Regions from separate parts of the Homo sapiens genome. Here region 2 is linked to region 1. The links are contacts of gene promoters, found by promoter capture Hi-C in blood cells and fetal thymus (Javierre and others, 2016). All regions are on one chromosome and are shown on one strand. The core of a region is centred on a gene start or on the middle of the fragment in contact, and the rest is flanking DNA. Distances in the headings are between cores, read along the strand shown. Region 1 holds the start of FBXO33 (F-box protein 33). Region 2 overlaps FAM177A1 (family with sequence similarity 177 member A1).

The links. Contacts are between HindIII fragments. The CHiCAGO score rates a contact against its expected background, and 5 or more counts as called.
Region 2: a contact is called between a fragment that was not itself captured here and the fragment with the promoter of FBXO33 in region 1, in 1 of 17 cell types (total B cells). The highest score is 7.2, in total B cells.

Annotation. Positions count from the first base shown.
Region 1 is chr14:39,429,283-39,436,260 of GRCh38, reverse strand. FBXO33 (F-box protein 33) reads left to right here and starts at 3,828. Exons shown (of 4, transcript NM_203301.4): 1 at 3,828-4,697. The coding sequence starts at 4,099. It overlaps LOC105370461 (a long non-coding RNA gene), which reads right to left and starts at 3,822. Exons shown (of 8, transcript XR_007064121.1): 1 at 3,742-3,822. RefSeq lists silencers at 3,230-3,399, 4,140-4,269, 4,710-4,839 and an enhancer at 3,790-4,039. The HindIII fragment of the contact is 7,836 bases long and covers 1-6,978 here.
Region 2 is chr14:35,047,996-35,053,010 of GRCh38, reverse strand. The region is part of intron 1 of FAM177A1 (family with sequence similarity 177 member A1); the gene reads right to left. Among named protein-coding and RNA genes, the nearest start is that of FAM177A1, 4.2 kb to the right of the region's middle. The HindIII fragment of the contact is 2,565 bases long and covers 2,483-5,015 here.

The DNA of each region.
Region 1 (6,978 bases), core at 2,579-5,078:
GCCAGAGGGAAGGAGAAAAGAAAATCCTCTCAGTGCTTAAGCTAGTTAGGTTAAACAACCAAAGGAACCCAATTAAAATGACTACTTTGGAGACTGTGCCTCTTAAGTAACAGTCCCGTGAGCCCCGTTGGGGGATCCTGCCTATAATCTAAGCTGCACAACTCCAACGAGGATCATTAGTCAATTACTGATTTTAACTAGAAGTCAAGGAATTTTATTGGTTGAACCAGCTGTGTTAAACATAACACTTAGTTTTTAATATGTACTTAAGCAATAAAGGGTACCTCTGAAAACACCCATCCTCTTAAATAAAAGGGAAGAAATCAGTAATGCAATAAAACAGGCATTCAAGTTAAACCTTTTGAATTCATTTTTTAACTAAATGGGATAGATAGGGAAAAAAATAGCTCTGGAAGTGGACTTAAAATGCGGGGATTAGCTAGTAGGCCTAGCTACAGAGACAAAATATGGCCTTGGCCCACAGTTTTGAGAACTTTGGTAAAGAATTTGAAATCTGGTGCCCTGAAGACTAAATCTGGTTTTGTTATGCCCACAGAATATTTTTAATGTAAATAAATTGGCAATCTGAAGGTTTAACCTTTTTAAAAATGAGGATTTTAGTTACTTTTGAAAAACTAGGAAATCTGGAAACACAGAGCCCACTTTCCCACTTGCGAAAAGCATCCTCCTGTAAGACAAAATCTTTCCATCTCCCTATATTGCACAGTACCCAATTCTTCTCTCACTACACGTATCTGATTCCTTTGATATATGAACTATCAATCCCTGCTTTATGGAGAGAGGTCTTGCACAATCAACTCATGAGTGGCTTGGTTAGAAAAAGTTGTGATATCAGCGACATGCTACACCTAGACTGACAAACCAATGACGCGGTCCTCTGTCATGTAGCTCACCAACGCAGACTTCCTCCTCTAAAGATGAATTCCCTTCAATCCCTCATTTCTTTTTACTGTAATATGATTCCACTAGGAAACACTTCAATCCACCAGACAAGGGTGACGGGAATGAGGTACCCAGATCTACTGTCGCAGGAGGTTCCTGTGCCTCTAGGTAAATTTATGGGTGCATGCTAAGAGATAATTGGAAGGGTATTATGTCACCTCTACCTGTCAACAATGTCTGAAACCCAGACATCACTCAGAAAACTGTATTTTTTCAAGAAATATTAGAATTTAGGCAATTTTCATGTTTACTGGTAGCCTTGAACATCGTTTCATGATGCAGCTAAAATAAAATCTGTCATGGTTACTTTTTTCTATTATAAAATTGCAAGTGATTCAGTATAATAAAAGTTATATTTAACCCAAAGAAAGTTGCCAAACTTAAGCAAAAATGGAAAGAAAGCTATAGTAAGATATATTTAATACCCCAATTACCTAACTAGGAAAAACACTAAACTTAGCATGTTAGAAAAGGAGAAATATAAAAATATTAAGTGCTTAATTTATCTCTAAAAGAATTAACCATGAGTATAACAAGAAAAACAGAACAGACCATTGACTATCAACAGGCAGGCATATCAATCCACCAGAGCAGATACCTACCTTAATATTATAGTCCTATCCACCATTCGTTGCCTGGGTTTCAAATCCAAATAAGCATGGTGGTTGCTATAGTGACAATATGCCACTTTTGGAACCTGGAGCTTAGTACTACTAGGTACTTATGAGCTTCATAACGTCAGTACTTCCTCCCACACTCTGAATCATAGCTCAGATTTTATAACTTCACAAAATGTAATTCCATTCTGTCCTATATGAGTCAATTTTATTTTAGCAGTATAGAATATATGTCAAAAGAATCTAACTCACTTAACATGCTAAATATACATACTCAATATACATTTAATTAATAGTAAATATATTGGCCTGATAAGATAAATTTTGTGCAACCATTGGAATTCACTGATTTATTATTGAAACTGGGCAAGATTCACAGCTAATTCTTTAGCTTACAGTTGTTAAAATAGGATTCCTACCACACTTCATTTAAGAAGAAAGTTTGAAATTCTAAAATAATGAATTTCATTTATGGCAGACTGACATATTTTCATTTTACTCAGGAACCATTCCTAATAATTAAAGACTAATTATTAATGATCTCCAAGATGGTAGCTTGTTGCTAGCAAAATGCTAAGAAAAAAATATCAATCTCAAATTACAGTGCATTTCTAGAATATTAAAAAAAAAAAAGTCAGAGAACTGGAAACCCTCATACATGGCTGGTGGGAATGAAAAATGATGCAGCCACTTTGGAAAAAGTTTCCGTTTCTCAAAAAGTTATACATAGAACTACCCTACGACCCATCACTTTCATTCCTAGGTATCTACCCAAGACAAATTAAAACATACGTCCACATAAAGACTTGCACATGAATGTTCACAGCATTATTCATAACTCGAAACGACCTAAATGTCTGTAAACTGGTAAATGGGTAGTGTTTCATCCTGCCGAACCCACGACTGGGGTCGCCCTCTAAGAGTTCATTAAAATTAATAAGGTATAATTACCTAAAACTCTTGTAAACAGGGGCTCGAATAAGTAACCTATCACAATTGATAAACCACACCATGTTGTTGGCAACCTGATATGTGCAAGGCATTAAACGGAGAGCTTTGCCCTCAAAGGGTTAAGAACATCTAGAATGGGGGTCTCCTCTTTCGTCTTGGGAGCCCCCTCCGTCTGTCTCTGTAGTGGGGAGCTTCTTCCTTCAGCCTTCTTCCTTCTTTCTTGCCTATTAAATTCTCCGCTCCTTAAAACCAAAAAAAAAAAAAAAAGTCCAAAAAGTCTTGGTGTTTACCACAAAAGAACGATGCTATTCCAACATCACAGCCTCCCTAAAGCAACTCTCAATTATTACATAAAGAGGCAGCCTCCCTAAAGCAACCCTCGATTATTACATAAAGTCACTTAATCTTTTCTGACTTCACCACTCTTTGCAACCAGAGTTTACTTTGCAGTAGGCTGTGGTGAAGTTAGGGACATGGTTTGGAAAATCTAAGTTAGGGATACCAGGCAAAAAAAGAAGAAGAAGAAAGAAAAAAAATCAAAGCTCTGTCATTACTGTGAACTTTTCAACGAGAGCCTTAAATCTCAGCACAGGGAAAAGAGACCCTTCCTCAAGCCCTGGAGAAGAGGCTGGTCACAACCTGCGGATCTCAGATCCCTTTGCCAATTTTTTTCTCTCCCTCTGAATCCAAAGGGTGACGCTGTCCTCACTGCTTCCCCACACACCAGCGAGTGCGCGGAAGTCCACCTGCGTGGTTGGACCGAGGGGGCAGGTCCATTCGCGGCCTCCGCCACGCCCCACACCGCCCCTCCCGGCACAGCCCGCCGGGGTTAGCCCGCCCGTCCGCCAGCTCCCTCTCAGCGGCGCAATCTCAGGAATTCTTAACCCTACTCTGGGCAGGTGGGATGGCTGAGAAAGACCCTGCATGCCGCCACTTTGGCTCAGGGTCCTCAGCCCAAACTGAGAAACGTTTTACAAAGAAGCGTGACGACCTTTCGCACTAAACCAGAGTACCGCCACCTCCATCGACCGAGCGCCAAAATTAACCGACTTACAGATGTGACTGGGCGCAGCGGCCACCGTAAGGCGTAAGGGGTGCCAAGTGCCGGTTCCAGTCCCGCCCAGCCCCGCCCCGCCCCGCCCCGCCCAGCCCCGCCCCGCCCCGCGGCCTGCGTGCGTCAGAGATCACGTGCCGCGCCTCCCGTCCCTACAGGCAATCGGGCGCTCCCCTCTTCCGGAAGTCGCGCCGGTGCGCGCCGGACTCCTCCCACCAGCGGCGACGTCAAACTCAGCTCCTACCACTTCTCTGTCTCTGCCGACCGGCGCAGGGAGGGCTGCCTTTTCCTTACAGTACGCCTTGAGGCTTCCGGGCCGCTGAAGTTTACGAGCGAGGGCAGTGCAGTTACTCAGTGTGCCGGCCTCGGACGCACGTGAGTAGAGTTTGAGAAGACAGAGGCTGGCTCCCGGCAGGCCACGCCCGCAGAGGCCTTTCCCCCTCTCCACAACTTGTGTTCTACTTGGTTCCGCCGAGACCCACGACGGTTCCGCCCCCTTCTTCCTAGTCATTGATGTTGTTGTTCTTGTCAGTGCCGCAGCCCCGACCGCCGGGAGCTCGAACCCGAGCCGGGGCCGCCCGGGTGGCGCGGTGGCGGCGGCTGCGGCTGCAGCAGCTGCGACGGCTGCGGGGGCTGCTCCGGGTACTGCGGGGGCGGCCGGGAGCCGGCAGCCGGCGGCGGGGCCGGATGGCTCTGTGCGGGCAGGCGGCGGGCGCTGCGTCGCTGCCCAGCGAGCTGATCGTGCACATCTTCTCTTTTCTGCCGGCGCCCGACCGGCTGCGGGCCTCGGCCTCCTGCTCGCACTGGCGTGAGTGCCTCTTCTATCCGGCCCTGTGGCCCCAGCTCCGCATCTGCCTCCGCGTCTCGCCCGCGGAGCAGCCTCGGCTGGAATTCCTCATGCGCAAGTGCGGCTGGTTCGTGCGAGAGCTGCGTGTTGAATTCGCCGCCGAGAACTATCTGAGCGGCGGTGGCCCAGGGGACGGAGGTGGCGCGGACACCGGGACTGGAGGGGAGGAAGTCGAGGCCCTGCAGCTCTCAGCTCGTTGGCTGGAAGTGCTGCGCACCTACTTGGAGCTGGTGCTTTGCGTGCTGGTCAGCATCCGGAACAACAGGTAGGCTTGCCCTGAGCCCCGCCCCGCCCGGTAACGGGGGGTCGCTCCGTCCCCGCACCCCGACACAGATTCTGTGCATAATACGTGCCCGGCCAACTTCAGTGTTGCCTTCCTCAGTGACGGAGAGTGTTGGTTCTAACTAGGCGGTTTCCTTGAGCGGAAAGGCATAACGGGACTCATCACGATACTTTATAAACAGTGGTGGACGGGGTGTTTAACAGACACCACTTCTGGCGCCTTCCAGGCACTCATTCATCCTCTTGGTGGCCGTGGGATGGAGCTGACAGGCGCTGTCACTTTTCATTTTATATATGGGAGCGTTAAGACTGGGAGGGTGAGGCCTGTGGGTGAGCCTTGGAAGAAACAAAACATACACATAACACGATTTTCTGACTCTGAATCTGTTAGAAATAGTTCATGGTGAGGGAAGGAGTAGGTACTCATAGGACGCTGCCTAAAAGAAATTTTGTAACAGCCATTTTCTTACCAGAAATAGTTTCGGCTAACTGAACAAGGCCCGAAGAGGAGGAGGAGTGTTTGTTAAAGGGATTGGGGAAGAAGTTGATCTTCAGGGTTGAAAGTCCCTCCCCATACACCACCACACTCAACTTCTCCCCAGTAGTTCACCTAAAAGTAACAGTCGGGCGGAGGAGGCGGGCGGGCAGCGAGGGAGTTGGCCAGGGTCTGCAGAGGGTAAGCACATAACTGTTCTGGTTTTGCATCAGGACTTCACTGTAATTCCAGAACTAACGCCTTATATTCTGACCCAGTATCCCTCCCAATCATCATTTTTCTCCATCGCCACCTCCAAAACCCTATTAATTTAGATCTTCTTTATATGGATATTCTAAAGAACCTTACAGTAAAGCTCTTATTAGAAGAAAGTTTAGACGTTCACAAAAGGAGCACCTTACATAGTAAAAATACTTCAGCAGTTTCACATTCACTGTGTTGTTTGAGCCTCTCAGTGGCACTATGAGGCAGGGTAATGATAAATAACCCTGTTTTACAGAAAGGAAACTGACCCTTTATAGGATCAAGTGATTTGCACATTGCTGTACGGCATTGTTTTTCTCCGAAAGCGTGTCCTTTTGCAGTAAATATACTGAACATTATGTTGAACAAGGTTGAGAGCAGTCCCTGGTTTAATGCTAGGAGATATATATAGATATAAGGTTATATATATATATGTATGCGCCATTAATCTGTGTCTTAATTTAGAAGTCAAGAGATAAGTTATAGCTCCAAGTTGTATCTGGGATATGGCTCCATTATTCCAGTTGCCTGTGCGTTTCCACAGCTTTTCGCAAGACATTCTATTTCCTTACTTTGGTTTTATCTGGCAGGAGAGGCCATTGAAGCTAAAAACAGATTAGGTTAGAGACTTTCTCAGAGTTGAATGTATGGCTAGAGGACCAACTGACCCAAAAGTTGCAAAGTTTCAGTCAGTGAGCACTTACTAATGAGACCAAGGTTGAGGGTGAATTCAATGAGTGAGTACCAATTAGATTTTTCTGTACTGAGATCAAATTGCACTTTTATGCAACCATGCAAACACTGTATGTGCCTTTGACCCAAGTAAGAACAAGACTTGATAAGTGTCTAGTTCCTTTTAAGTATTTTAATAACTGGTTGGTTGGATGGGTGGATAACATACAGGCAAAATGGAGATATTTCACATCTTTGCTTTGTAGCTTAATTCTCCTGTCCTTCTCTTCCTTACCCCTACAATTTTTATTAGCATCCCAATCTGCTTCTCTATAAGGCCACCGATGCCTGCCCTTCTGGGTCAGCTATCACTTCTATGCAAAAACATCACACCCGTCATCCCTAATTTTAAGGTTTGCTTGTCATCTACTATTAGCATGGTGTTGTATGTCATGCTGCTTTGGTAGCATATTCATTCTGTTTGTCTCAAAATGTAGTGTAATTGCATGTTGTTTGTACTAATGATACATCAAAGGGTTTTTGGAAATAAGTTAATCTCATCTTTACTGTTGAAAGTGTTTTGAGATACTCTGTGATATTGGAAAAGTTAATATGAATATTAAATCCATAAATAAGACTAGTTTCCTTTAAATTTTAACAAATCTGAAAATGTTTTAAACCACATTGTTTATCAGTGACTAGTAAAGCCTATTATTTCTTTCTATAATCACTTAAACTATAGACTTGGGACATTTGACATTGCTCTTTACATTTCCAAGTTAAATTTACAATGGTTTTGCTTTATGATTTCTGCCATTCTATAAGTAGAAAAGAGGGGGTGTGAATCATACCA
Region 2 (5,015 bases), core at 2,516-5,015, 4.4 Mb after region 1:
AGTAATACATATGTAACAAAAGAGATTTCTGATAGTAAAAAGATTTCACAAGTTCTTAAACTTTAGTAGTCTATGGAATTTTTTTTTCCCCCAGACAGGGTCTGGCTGTTGCCTAGGCTGGAGAGCAGTAGTGCAATCACGGCTCACTGCAATCTCAAATTCCTGGCCTCAAGTGATCCTTCTGTGTCCACCTCCTGAGTACCTGGGACTATAGGAGCATGCCACCACACTTGGCTAATTTTTTTTTCTATAGGGACAGTGTCTGGCTATGTTGCCCAGGTTGGTCTCCAACTACTGGCCTTAAGCAATCCTCCCACTTCAGCCTCCCAAAGTTTTAGGATTACAGGCATACGTCACTGTGCCTGAGCTGGAATTCTAATACAAATTTTACTCCTATATATTTACACTATATATATCTATATATATAGTGGGAGATGGTGAAGAGCTTCTTTTCATTGTCCTCTTGCCTCAAGTTTAAACTCCTAATAAAACTGCCTGAAGTTGGGCCAGGCGCGGGCTCATACCTGTAATCCCAGCATTTTGGGAGGCCGAGGCAGGCGGATCACAAGGTCAGGAGATCGAGACCACGGTGAAACCCTGTCTCTACTAAAAATATAAAAAATTAGCTGGGCGCAGCAGCGGGTGCCTGTAGTCCCAACTACTCGGGAGGCTGAGGCAGAAGAATGGCATGAACCTGGAAGGCGCGCCACTGCACTCCAGTCTGGGCAACAGAGCAAGACTCCATCTCGGAAAAAAAAAAAGAAAACTGCCTGAAGTTTAAACTTCCAGATTTCAAAAAGGTACAGTACATACAATTGTGAAGAAAAATCTGGCAACAGTGGTTACCCCATGGGTAGAAACTAAGATGGGGGAGAAGCAGAAGGCAAGGGAGTAGTCAAAGGAGGGCTTTTATTCTTTTTGCATATACAGGACTACAGTAATGTCATGATTACAGTCTATGTTCGTAGAATTCTCTAGGATAGTCCAGAGTACAAACATTTTGTTCTCTATAAAGATTCTTGTGGTTATAAGCAAACATAATTTAAACCCATGACTGCTGTTCAACCACTGGAAAAGCTCTTTGAATTGCTATTGCAAAAAAAGGATTATACTGATAAAAACAGTGAACTGCCCAGTTATGCAAGTATAAGCTACTTTGTTTTTATACATTGTTTCATCTTAATCTTCTAAGGTCCTTCTTAGAAAACAGATATGATTCTTCTCTGCCTTTTACCTCCCAAAGGTAAGTTTAGTCATTAGCCAGGATTTGAACTGCAGATCATGAAAATTTGGTAACAGGCCAGCCGTGGTGGCTCATACCTGTAATCCTAGCACTTTGGGAGGCTGAGGCAGGAGGATCACATGAGGTGAGGAGTTCGAGACCAGGCTGGCCAACATGGCAAAACCCCAACTTTACTAAAAATACAAAAATCAGCTAGGCATGGTGGTACACGTATGTAATTTCAGCTACTTGGGAGGCTGAGGCATGAGAATCACTTGAACCCAGGAGGTGGATGTTGCAGTGAGCCGAGATCGCACCACTGCACTCAAGCCTGGGCAACAGAGCCAGACTGTCTCAAAAAAATAAAAATAAGGCTGGGTGCTGTGGCTCAGGCCTATAATGGCAGCAATTTGGGGGGCCAAGGCAAGATAACCTGATGTCAGGAGTTGGAGACCAGCCCGGCCAACATGGTGAAACCCTGTCTCCACTAAAAAAACAAAAATTAGCTGGGCGTGGTGGCACGCACCTGTAGTCCCAGCTACTCGGGAAGCTGAGGAATGAGAATCACTTAAACCCGGGAGGTGGCGGTTGCAGTGAGCTGAGATCGTGCCACTGCACTCCAGTCTGGGTCACACAGCGAGACTCCATCTCAAAAAATAAAAATAATAAACTATCTTAAAAAATAAAATTTGGTAACATAGGCTACCTATGTATTAACATGAAAAAAAGTCACAATTCTTTCTAGCCTGTCCTGAGGGTTCAAATAAATCCCAGCCCTTAACAAGGAAAGATCAGGTCATTTATTGTGTCCATGAAAAAAATAAACAAGTAGTTAACCCAGGACACTTTTCTTCTACCTACCCCCAAGCCCCACCAATCCCCAGGCACTGACAGCCATCCCTACCCAGTCTCATGTTTACCCTTGAGATAAAATTTGGCTATGGCTGTCCTGACATCAACGTTTCCTTTTGGACCATGACTCAGCTTTTTGGATCCCTTAATTTCCTATGCAAAGGAAAGACAGATGAGCTAAGTTAGATCTCCAGTCATCCTACTAACTGGATGGATCTAATGTCAATGCAACAGCTCCAGTCAGTGAATAGAGAGCTCAGATCCTTCACAGTATACCACCATGCCCCACCCTATCCCACCCCCAAGACAGTAGAGGCTTCTCACTGCTACCTCTAGCAATCTCTCATTGGCTTAATTTTTTCCTTCTATGACACAGGCAAAGGAAGGAATGTCAGTGCTCAAAAAGCTTCAGATTTTAGAGTATTTCAGATGAGGGATAATGATTCCAACCTCTATTTGGGAGGCGGGGTGGGGGGCAATGAAGGAAGCACTAACAGGTAAAACCAACCAGAAAATCATTTGATACAAAATTCCCAATAATTATATTTTTAAAATATTTTTCTTTTTTTATTTTTCAAACATCAACTTGAACCAGAAATCCAATAATTACAAATAAAATTTACACTGTGGCTGGGCATGGTGGCTCATGCTTGTAACCCCAGCACTTTGGGAGACTGAGGCGGGCAGACAACTTGAGGTCAAGGGTGTGAGACCACCCTGGCTAACATGGTGAAATCCCACCTCTACTAAAAAAATACAAAAATTAGCCAGGCGCGGTGGAGCGTGCCTATAATCCCAGCTACACAGGAGGCTGAGGCAGGAGAATTGCTTGAACCCGGGAGGTGGAGGTTGCAGCGAGCCGAGATCGCGCCATGAACTTCAGCCTGGGCAACAGAGTGAGATTCTGTCTCAAAAAACAAAAAAAGTTACACTGTGAATTTTCCAAATGCTTCATTTTATAAATCTGCAAGTAAGAAAAATTTCACTGCCAATTATGCAAATTCCATAACGAACCCCAAAGATCTGAAAGATAGTTTCATAACACCAGGAAATTATGAGGTACCATGTCAATTAACATTTTACTCCATTTTATAGTTAACCAAACTATAAATGTGCTTATCTTTATTCTCAGGATCTGTTTTTTTCTTTTTTGAAAAGGAGTCTTGCTCTGTCATCCAGGCTGGAATGCAGTGGTGCGATCTTGGCTCACTGCAACCTCTACCTCCTGGGTTTCAGCGATTCTCCTGCCTCAGCCTCCCGAGTAGCTGGGACTACAGGCGTGAGCCATAATGCCCAGCTAATTTTTCTATTTTTAGTAGAGATGAGGGTTTCATCACGTTGGCCAGGCTGGTCTCGAACTCCTGACCTCAAGTGATCCACTGGCCTCAGCCTTCCAAAGTGCTGGGATTATAGGTGTGAGCCACTCTGCCCAGCTCAGGATCTGGTTTTAATGGCAATTTTTTGTATATACTCCCATGGCACCCAGACTTCTTTAAAACACATACTAGACTTAGAATTTATTCTTTGTCATCTTCCCCAACTAGGCTATTAGCAACATGGGGGTAGGTACTGCTATATCTTTCAGCCTAGAGTTCCTGGCACATAGTAAGTGCTTGGTAACAGAGGTACCAAATAAATCAATCACTGAGTGGTACTGAAATTTTAACTCCTTTAAAAACATTGAGGCTGAGATTCTGGTTAAAAGTCTATTCAGAGAAGCTGCTGGATAGAATGTCACAACAGGAGGCCGGGTGCGGTGGCTCACACCTGTAATCCCAGCACTTTGGGAGGCCAAGGCAGCAGGTGGATCACAAGGTCAGGACTTCAAGACCAGCCTGACCAAGATGGTGAAACCCCACCTCTACTAAAAATACAAAAATTAGCCAGATGTGGTTGCGTGCGCCTGTAGTCCTAGCTACTCAGGAGGCTGAGGCAAGAGAATTGCGTGAACCCGGGAGGTGGAGGTTGCAGTGAGCCAAGATCATGCCACTGCACTCCAGCCTGGGCCACAGAGTGAGACTCCGTCTTAAAAAAAAAAAAAAAAAGAATGTCACAACAGGTACTGGATGGCCTGTTTGGAGGCCTAATTCTAGACCCTATCTCCTATCTCTTACTCCCTTTCCCTACATTGCACTAGGGATTTCTCAGTTCTGCCAAACTTGGGAAGAAGTGTAAGATAGAGGCCTCTCCATCTCCTGAGATGTCCACTTCCCTGTTACTGTGCTCAACCCCCTGGGCATAGAACTGGAGTTCCCAAAGATGTTTCTGATTCAGGAATGTGAATCTGAAAGCACAAAGGGCAAATCAGAAAATGGAACTCATTGGTGTTTAACAAGAAAGAAGAGATATTTAATATTTAATAATATATATAATATATAAGAAATATATAATATTGAATGATAAAATTCCAGAGAGACTACACCAAAACTTAATAGTTACCTTTGGGGAATGAGAACATGAAGAAAGGGTGGTGGTGGGGTATTCCTGTGAATTTTTATCTTTTGTTCTACAGCCTTCTTTACTGGTTAAGTACTTATTTGTTAACCAAGAATGTGAAAACAACAGAATATCACTAACCCCAATCAAAGAGCCTCTCACTTCAAACAACATTTAGCTGGTATATAAGTACACGTGTGTTTACTTTGCTATTAGATCCAGGGCGGAGGTAGTGATTTTAAAAAAACAATTCTAGTAACAACAGGAAAAATCAAATTGAAAAACATATCAAGCACCATGGACTCAAAGGTTAAGTGTAAGTGCACTTGCCAACAATAGGTCTCAACTCAACTGAAAATGACGTGGCTTCCTTATCAATTCATGTTGTCCCCTGAATCCCCTTCTTAAGTAGGAGGGAAAAAACGTATTCCATATAGAGTTTGGTATGTGGGAAAGTTGTGTTTTTTGTTTTTGGGGTTTCTTTAGTTTTTTATTTAAGAGATGG